Regions from separate parts of the Homo sapiens genome. Here region 2 is linked to region 1. Evidence: promoter capture Hi-C in 16 types of primary human blood cells and fetal thymus (Javierre and others, 2016). All regions are on one chromosome and are shown on one strand. The core of a region is centred on a gene start or on the middle of the fragment in contact, and the rest is flanking DNA. Distances in the headings are between cores, read along the strand shown.

Evidence for each region. Contacts are between HindIII fragments. The CHiCAGO score rates a contact against its expected background, and 5 or more counts as called.
Region 2: a contact is called between a fragment that was not itself captured here and the fragment with the promoter of C1QTNF2 in region 1, in 1 of 17 cell types (non-activated CD4 T cells). The highest score is 6.3, in non-activated CD4 T cells.

The regions. Positions count from the first base shown.
Region 1 is chr5:160,368,705-160,372,984 of GRCh38, reverse strand. It overlaps C1QTNF2 (C1q and TNF related 2), which reads left to right and starts at 2,359. Exons shown (of 3, transcript NM_031908.6): 1 at 2,359-2,473. The HindIII fragment of the contact is 8,188 bases long and covers 1,019-4,280 here.
Region 2 is chr5:163,409,872-163,414,518 of GRCh38, reverse strand. LOC105377700 (a long non-coding RNA gene) reads left to right here and starts at 965. Exons shown (of 4, transcript XR_002956233.2): 1 at 965-2,200. The HindIII fragment of the contact is 1,038 bases long and covers 732-1,769 here.

The DNA of each region.
Region 1 (4,280 bases), core at 1,110-3,609:
CCGGGTGCAATGGCTCACGCCTGTAATCCCAGCACTTTGGGAGGCCGAGGCAGTTGGATGACATGAGGCCAGGATTTCAAAACCAGCCTGAGCAAAATAGTGAAGCCCCATCTCTACTAAAAGTACAAAAATTAGCCTAGTGTGGTGTTGCGCGCCTGTGGTCCCAGCTACTTGGCAGGCTGAGACGGGAGAATCGTTTGAACCCGGGAGGTGGAGATTGCAGTGAGCTGAGATTGTGCCACTGCACTCCAGCCTAGGCAACAGAGCAAGACTCCATCTTAAACAAACAAACAAACAAATGTTCGTAGACTGAATTCAAGCAGAGAGTAAAGACAGAGAGAGGCTAGGGAGAGGAAGTTCTAAGCCCCATTCTAGCTTGACACAGTTCCTGCAGCTCGTGGAACTGCCACCGGACAAGTATTTTGGATTGCATGCTACATGAAGCCATCACCACTGCAAGGAACCATAGGACAGGGACCCAGGAACTCTGCTAGGCTTCAGGAAACCTAGGTTCCAGGTATCCTTCAAAAGTTGGAAAAACATGTGCCCCCATTCATTCAATCAGTAGTGTTTATTAAATGTTTCACACTACCAGGTATAGCAGCACTGCCTTTCTTAACTTTTCATTAACCTTTTTTTTTTAACCAATGAGAGCATGCCAGTGATTTCAACCTCTGTCATGATGGAGCCACATGGATAACACACAGATATTACCACTCTACTCTAGGAGAGGGGCTTTCCTGAGCCCTTTAGATTCTGAATGGCCTCCAGGCATTCTAAGCAGTTTCCTCACCTTTCCAATTGCTGACACATCTGACCCAAGAGGCGGTGGATGGAAGTTTCCTTTCCAGCCATCTGTGTATCAACACCCTAAACTCCACTCCACATGTTATCATTCCTTCATTTTTTGAGCTCACACTTCCCCTACATTCAGACAAGTCTCAGTCATCTCTCAGGGTTCACCTGAAACATCAGTTTCCCAGGCCTTCCCCTGACTGCCCAGTTTATACTTTAAGCTTTTCTTTTCTATAACACTCATTTCACTTGTAACCACTTGTGTCATCCCCAGCTGGAGGACTCTAAGTTTCATGAGGGTAGGCATCAAGCCTATTTGTTTCCCTCTATGTCCCCAGCACCTTGCTTGGGGACTGACACACAATGGATGCTTATTAAATATTTGTTGAATGAATGTTTGTTAAGCCTACAAACTTTCTTTCTCAAATAGTATTTATGTGATATTAGTAATAATTCCCTACATAGTTCAATGGCTTACCAAACATCTTTATGAGTTAGTGTCCCAACTTTGGGGTAAAGGCAGTGCAGGTAATATTATTCTCCCATTTTTTTTAGAAAATAAAACACCATCTGTGAGATTATCTGACTTGATTAAGGTGGTGGATACAACATTAGAATTCAAATGCATATCTGTATTAAAATTCTGACTGTAAATTTTGTGTCACTTACCAGCTGTTAACCAGATGCTCTGGCTGTGCAGAGTGAAATATGGGTAGCTAGTGGAAGAGAGCAGTGGAAGGAACAGGGAGAAGCAAAAGCCAGGCCTTGGAGGATTTCCTTTCCTCCAGTGCCTGCTTGATTCCCAAATAGGATTGCTTTGCCTATCCTGGGAGCTGAGACCCTCCATAAGTCTCTCAATGACTTGAGGCTGGGCCAGAGTGAGTGAGACCAGTGAATCCTCACCTTCTGGGGAGAAGAGAAATGAGAGCTGGTACACAGGGGAACTCACCCACACTAGTGTGTATGTGCACACTCACATCCGGACAAAATCCACACCAAGGCATGCATAGAAATCAACACATAGAATGAGCCACTGCACAGTCATACACACATTTAAACATACACCCCACATACAGATGTCAAACCAACACACAGAATGAGCCCCTGCACAGTCACACACACATTTAAACATGCACCCCACATACAGATGTCTAGCCACTATCGTGTACATCCAACCACTGATGTGCCCTCCAGTTTTACACCAAGCTGCCATCTTGGACATGTGCATGCATGTGTACATACACCGAACAGCCCTGATGAAAATTTGGATAAACGCACGTACGCACACACACAACTAAACACATCCCTATGATTTATCATCACACTCAAGTACATGCACACCTTTGCAAACGCGTGGGAAACAATCACTCTGATCACTCTGGCGCACAAAACCTCCAAATACGCTAACAAGCTCTACAAACGCAGAGATGCATCGACACACCCGAGTTGTCATCAGCACTGCAAGTTTTTTCCAAACAGCTGCTAAAAAGAGAATGCTGCGCTGCGGGCCAGCCCACGTGACCGGGAGGAAGGCTCTCCCGCCCATGACGGGATGGGAAAACTATGCCTGGGGCCGACGCTCTGCCCGGCTGCTGCCGCTGAGGAAAGCCGGGACGCGGAGCCCCGCCGAGAGCTTCTTTGCTCCGGACGCCCCTGGACGTGGCGGGCAGCCGCGAGGGTGAGTGTCCCGCACCGCGGTCGGGCGGGGGCGGCAAGTGCGCGCGGGGAGGAGGAGGAGGAGGACTCGCACTGCTGCGGGCGGGGCGGGATGCGGAAGGTGGGAGAGCTGCCAGCGCGCCTTTATTGCGGGCTGGGCAGCTCCTGCATTCCTGCCTCTCGACTTCTACCTTCGTATTATAATACAAATTAACATGTTTTGAGTCCTTACTGTGTGCCAGGCTCTGTGCCCAGTGGTTTACCCGTTACAATAGTAACACCCGTAGCTCTGCCATTTATTGAGCGCCTACTTTGTGCCAAGTCCTGCTAGCACTTTACTTGTGCTCTTTCATTTTCATGACAACAGATTATCCCCGTCTACAAAAGAGGAACTGGGCTCAGAGACATTAATGACTTGGACAGGGTTGCACAGCTAGTAATTGATAAAAAAGGGACTTGAAGTCTGGTAAATCTGAGTCCAATACCCGAGCTAACAATCACAGTTAACATTTACTGAATGCATTATTTCACTTAACCTTCACATTTATTTAAATATATGATACAGACTGGCAAACTGAGCTCAAAAGGTATTGAACGGCAGGCAGAGATTTGTACTCAATGCCTCATGACTCTCTTCACTCTCCTTCCCCACCTAAACTACTTGTCTTAATATGCTTTGTCCTTATTTCTCCATCCCCACTGCTGCTGCCCCATTCTAGGACCTCGCTTTTCAGCTAAATAATTGCAGTGGGCCCTAATAGTCTCCCAGCCCAGGTCTCTCCTCTGACACCATGAGTCCCTTGCATTACCTCATTGTGATCCTCCTCTGCTCCTTGACCACAAAATTGCCCTGCTTGGAAGCCTGCAGAGGTCCCTTCCTTAGACTGGCCATCTCTCAGAGACCCTGTGTTTCCACCATGCTGAAGTAGCAGTAATAGAAAGACAATGTCTTACATAGGTCAATCCAAGGCTGGTGCTCAGTTAGCACTGTTAAAAATCTGTCCTCTCACATCCTTATTTTTGCCCTCCCTCTGCACCATTCTCTAATTTATTCTGTCATCTGGAGTAATTATATCAATTACTCCTGCTTTCAACTGCCCGATCCTCAAACTCTCCACACATTTCCAAGCATCACTACAGCCCTTCATTGTAACACATCAGATTCACTGCAGAATTTGTTTCCTCCCAAATGTCTGACTTCTCCCCATCTCCTAGCAGGGATACCACACTTACCAGTCTTCCAATCCTTAAACCTTAGGTTTACCTTTTGTTTTAAATGTTATAAAAGTAACGACGCTCATCACAAGAAATTCGAACAGTTCAAAAAGGTAGAAAGAGAAAAGTAAAAGCCCACACACCCCCTCCCAATTCTGAAAGGTAACCCCTTAACAAGATTGTGTCTTTTCGGAAAGTATTTCCCCAACCCTTCTGTACATATATATACTCTGTATTTGTGCTGTTTTTTTTTTTTTTAAACTCAAAGAGAAGCATACTTTACATTCCATGGTACAACTTGCTTTTTTCACTTAACAGTGTGTCTTCGCCATGTTTTCATATCTGCATATACAGGCTTACTTTGTTCTTCTAATGGGCATAGTGTGTCATTGTATGGATGAACTGAGATTATTTTTCACAAGGCTGGAGTCACGTTTGAAGCCACTCTGTCTCCATTGAATGTTCAGCAAGTTCTCCAAGGTGTCACTTTTTTCCTCTGCAAATCTCCCTATTCCTCCCCCCTGTCTCGCTATTCCTTCTCTTATGCTGACCCTGCTGATCAGACAGTCTCTCCTGCTGTCTCAATCACTGATGCTTCCTACTCCTAAATGTTC
Region 2 (4,647 bases), core at 1-2,500, 3.0 Mb before region 1:
ATTAGACAACTGAGAGATCTATTCACAAAACTATTTCACAAAAATTATATATAGAGCTTCTTGGGGGGCATTTATTTTCTCCACCAAGGGATCCTCTGATATTCTGTCAGCAGATATTTTCTTAAAATTAAATTTATTTGAAAGTGTTTTGAGAGTGAGGTAGGGAAGGGAGCTGGCATTCTCAGAACCTGTCTTTAGTTGGATGCCTTCTCCTGCTTTCTGGGTGCCAGGTGTTCCAGAGTCTAGGGTCTCTCTGCTGCAGTGTCCTTTGAGAACAAGCACTGCAGTATGCTGTGGGGGTTAGGGAAGAGCAGTTGCTTGGCTGTGATGAGGGCATGGGGATCTGAGAGCTTAACTGCTCCTTATACAGATTATCAACTGATCACATACATTTCAGTCTATCTTCTAGGTTACCTGGAGCCTTCAATTTCTGTGAGCTTCTCTCTCCTCCCTCCTTCCCGTCTCACCTTCCCTCCATCTCTTCCTTCTTTCCTTCCTTCTTTTTCTCCCTTTCTTTCCCTCCCTCCCTCCCTTCCTTCCCTCCCTCCCTCCCCTCTTTCCTTCCTTCCTCCTTCCCTCCCTCCTTCCCTCCCTTCCCCTCTTCCTCCCTTCCCCCTTTCTCCTTTCCTCCCTTCCTCCCTTCCTTCCTTCCTTCCTTCCTTCCTTTTTTTCTTTCTTTCCTGAATAGGATTTCTTTTTTGGAAACCTTTCCTGAAGTCATGTTTTAAGCTTTCTCAGCTCTGGTAAATCAGTTACCATTCCTATATCAACTTTCAGTCTCAAAAAAACATGTTAATTTCTTCTTCATTGTCTCCTCTCCCATTCTCTTTACATTTTGAATTTAGACTTTTTACATTTATTTCACTATTGCTTTAGTGAATTTTTATTGAACCGTGTGACAATCAACCATATATTCAGCATGCCTTGTTAAAAGGTAGTTCAAATATGCCCTTAATCTTTTTGCGTGGCTTTAGAGTATCAGATAATTTTAAAAAATGATATAAAATAATGAAGTGATTCATACTCCAGAGATTCATCATCTCCTTTTCTGGGATAGGGCATCTGATGTACAAATAAGGGCAAATGACCAGGGGGCACAGATTGTCAGACCTGAAACAGCAGTGTTCACTGGAGAAGTTTCAGACTGTAGGGGTAGCAGGCACGTGGGCACCTTTGGCCTGTTTATTCTAGGCCAGCACAGAGTTCTAGCAAAGCCAGACTTCAGATTGCCTGAGAGGGGCTTTCACCTGCATAATTAGGGATGCTCCAGCCCCTCTCCTAGAGTGGTAAGAGGCCATGATACAATAGCACTATGACGTGATGGAATCTTGGCAGCAGCCCTAGCCCTTACCTAGAGAATGGCAAAGCTGCAGAAGAAACTGCCAATGGAGTGCTCAACTCCAGAAGCCTGAAACCTAGGTCGGCTTGGCAAGGTGCCTTGCGCCCCAGTGTCATGGCTGCGGTGGAGCCGCCCACTTCAAGGGGCCCTGCAGAATCAGACAGTGAGGATAGTGGCAGCAATCACAATGGGCTGAAGATTAAATAACTCTTGTTGACTTTTTCAAGTATTTATAAGCTCCCCAGATTCCCATGGAAGTCTACAGAAGGACATAATGAGAAAAGTAGGTTTAAAGGAAATAATGTGAAATTTCTTCCACACTTGAGTTGGTGAGTTAAACGCCACTTAGTCTATATGTGGTTTAAATGTTGTCCCATTGCCTCATTATGGCCTGATGTAAATTCATATGAAACTAGGATATTTAAAAGCTTATTGGGATAGCAAAATAGAGTTGATGTATTCACTGCAAAGATTATGGAGACCATTTATTGCTCTGAACATTTCAATATGTTGGCTTCTTGAGATTCCAACCCCAAGGGGACATGATAGTGATGAAGATGGAGAAATAGAAGTTTAAACAGCACAATTTGAAGAGGGGGCAAAAGTAACACTTTGATGAACCTAGACCATATAGACCAGTATAAGGTCAGCAAAGTCTGGAGGACCATGTGCTCTCTCCCTAGATTGGACCAGAAGCCCAGGCTCTACTTTTAGGAAATGGCTCAGAGAGCGCCCACTGAACTTGTCTCTGATGTCTTAGGCAGATCAAATGCTTCTCTGGTCTCTGCTTTCACAGATGGAGGATCAGGGGTGTGTGAGCACCACCCCGCTTGGTCTTGGAGACGGATCAAATCCAGACTGGTGAGTTCCGGGGGCTTGGGCAAAGTGTGGATAGAGTTTCTGAGGGTAGGATGATGAGGACATTTGGCTTGGGGGCTGAGAAGGAACATTTTTCCTGTAAAATTAAATCTTTACTAAGACTACTGCCATTAGGGGCAAGTACTGAAGAAGATCATGTGTTTCAAAGTAAGTAGCCTGACAAGATCTTGTTTGGGTTAAAAATACGTATTTATCTTATTTTCATTTTCAATATCTTATTTTACAGAGTTCTCTATTAAGAGATGCTATGAGTGGCTAGGCGTGGTGGCTCCTGCCGGTAATACCAGCATTTTGGGAGGCCGAGGCAGGTGGATCGCCTGAGGTCAGGAGTTTGAGAGCAGCCTGACCAACATGGTGAATCCCCATCTACTAACAATACAAAAATTAGCTGGGTGTGGTGGCGCATGCCTGTAATCCCAGCTACTCGGGAGGCTGAGGCAGGAGAATTGCTTGAACCTGGGAGGTGGAGGTTGCAGTGAGCTGAGATAGCACCATTGCACTCCAGCCTGGGTGACAAGAGTGAAACTCCATCCAAAAAAAAAAAAAATGCTATGAGTAAACAGCATTGCACCGTTAAGTAGTTTACAGGATCTGTTGAAGAAGACAGGGAGTCTCTTACCAACAACAAAAGGCGTTCCAACGCCTGGAATTCAACCGTATGGATGCACAGTGTGTTCTAGTTATAAAGTGGCTGATTTCAGGTAAAAGGAAAAAGTAAAGGAAAAAATCCTGTAGTGAGTGGGAAATAATAAATGCCTACGAGGCAATCCTTGGCATTCCTTGGCCTGTCACTCCAGTCTCTACCTTCAGCTTCCCATAGCCATCTCCATATTTCTCCTTTTCTCAAATCTCCCTCTCTTTTCTCTTAGAAGGATGCTAGTCATTGAACACAGGGCCTTCCTAAATCTGGATGATCTCATCACAAGAGTCTTTACTTAATTACATCTGCAAAGCCCTTTTCTCCAAATAACATCATGTTCGCAGATACTGAGGGTGGGGCCTGGATACATCTTTCAGGGGCCACTATGAAACTCATTACAAAGGCCTAATTCATTTTTCCTGATTGGCCCACACTGCTTCTCCGTCCTCTGGGATGCTGCAGTACTATTCTGTTTGTGCGCCTGTCTCACAGGAGTGATTAGCAGATCTTTATACTCGGTGTCTCTAGCATGATGCCTGATGTACCATAAGGCTTCAATGTGTTTGTTGAACTTAAGCAAAGCATCGCTTGCATCATGTCCTGAGTGTAAGCCTGGCTCACACTCAGCCGTGATATGTTATTCAGATCACAGCCACTCACGATACTCTGGGAAGTCAGCACGCTCCTACCAAGGCCAGACATCTCTGAACTGGAAAACACTTTACTCAGAGCTACCCATTTTTTTTTATGTCTTATAGAAGGGGCCAAGTGGAGAGGGCAGCTACTCATGTACTCATTTTTATTCATTCGTTTGTTCATCCATTTAAGAAACACTGAACACCTATTCTGAGCCAGGCCCTGCCCCAGGCATTTGAGATACAATGTGTGTATGGTAAAACCCTCAGCATCTGGGCTGGGATTGGAACAAGTGAACACTCAATTTACATTTATTGTGGTCATGGCCTGAGTGTGGAAGGAAGTGTAGAGTGCTGTGAAAGTCCTCAGACAGGCCCCGAACCTAGACTAGTGGTCAGGGAGATTGTCCTGGAGGAAGTGACATAAATACTGAGACTTGGAGAGAGAGGGTGGTCACCTCAAGTGCAGTGGTGGCAGTGGAGAATTTCAGAAATGTAGGTGGTAACATAGGAAAGTTTGTTTTTTTGTTTTTTTTGTTTTTGTTTTTGTTTTTTTAGACAGTGTCTCGCTCTGTCACCCAGGCTGGAGTGCAGTGTGTGATCTTGGCTTACTGCAACATCTGCCTCCTGGGTTCAAGCGATTCTCCTGCCTCAGCCTCCCGAGTAGCTGGGACTACAGGCGCATGCCATCATGCCCAGCTAATTTTTGTATTTTTAGTAGAGACAGGGTTTTGTCATGTTGGTCAGGCTGGTCTCGAACTCCTGACCTCAGGTGATCCACCGCCTTGGCCTCCCAAAGTGCTGGGATTACAGGCGTGACCCACAGCACCCAGCTGCAGGGAGGATTTTAAAGGCAAAAAAAGGGGGACAGGGAGCGGCTGATATAAAATTGTCAGGAATTCTCATTGGTTTATAGAAATAACAGTGATTAATGATTGGCTACACATTGTTAAGTTATAGAGTATGGATTATGGTGTCCATTGTTGCATTGTTAGATAATTTATAGCTACTTATAGCAACAGTAAGCAGTTTCAAGAGATGAATACATAGTTCAAAGGGCATATGCTGGTCTCATTTTAATGTCTCTCTAGGCCTGGTAATTTAAAATAATTTGTGTTGTTCACATGTTAATTTCTTGTCTCAGCCTGCAGAAA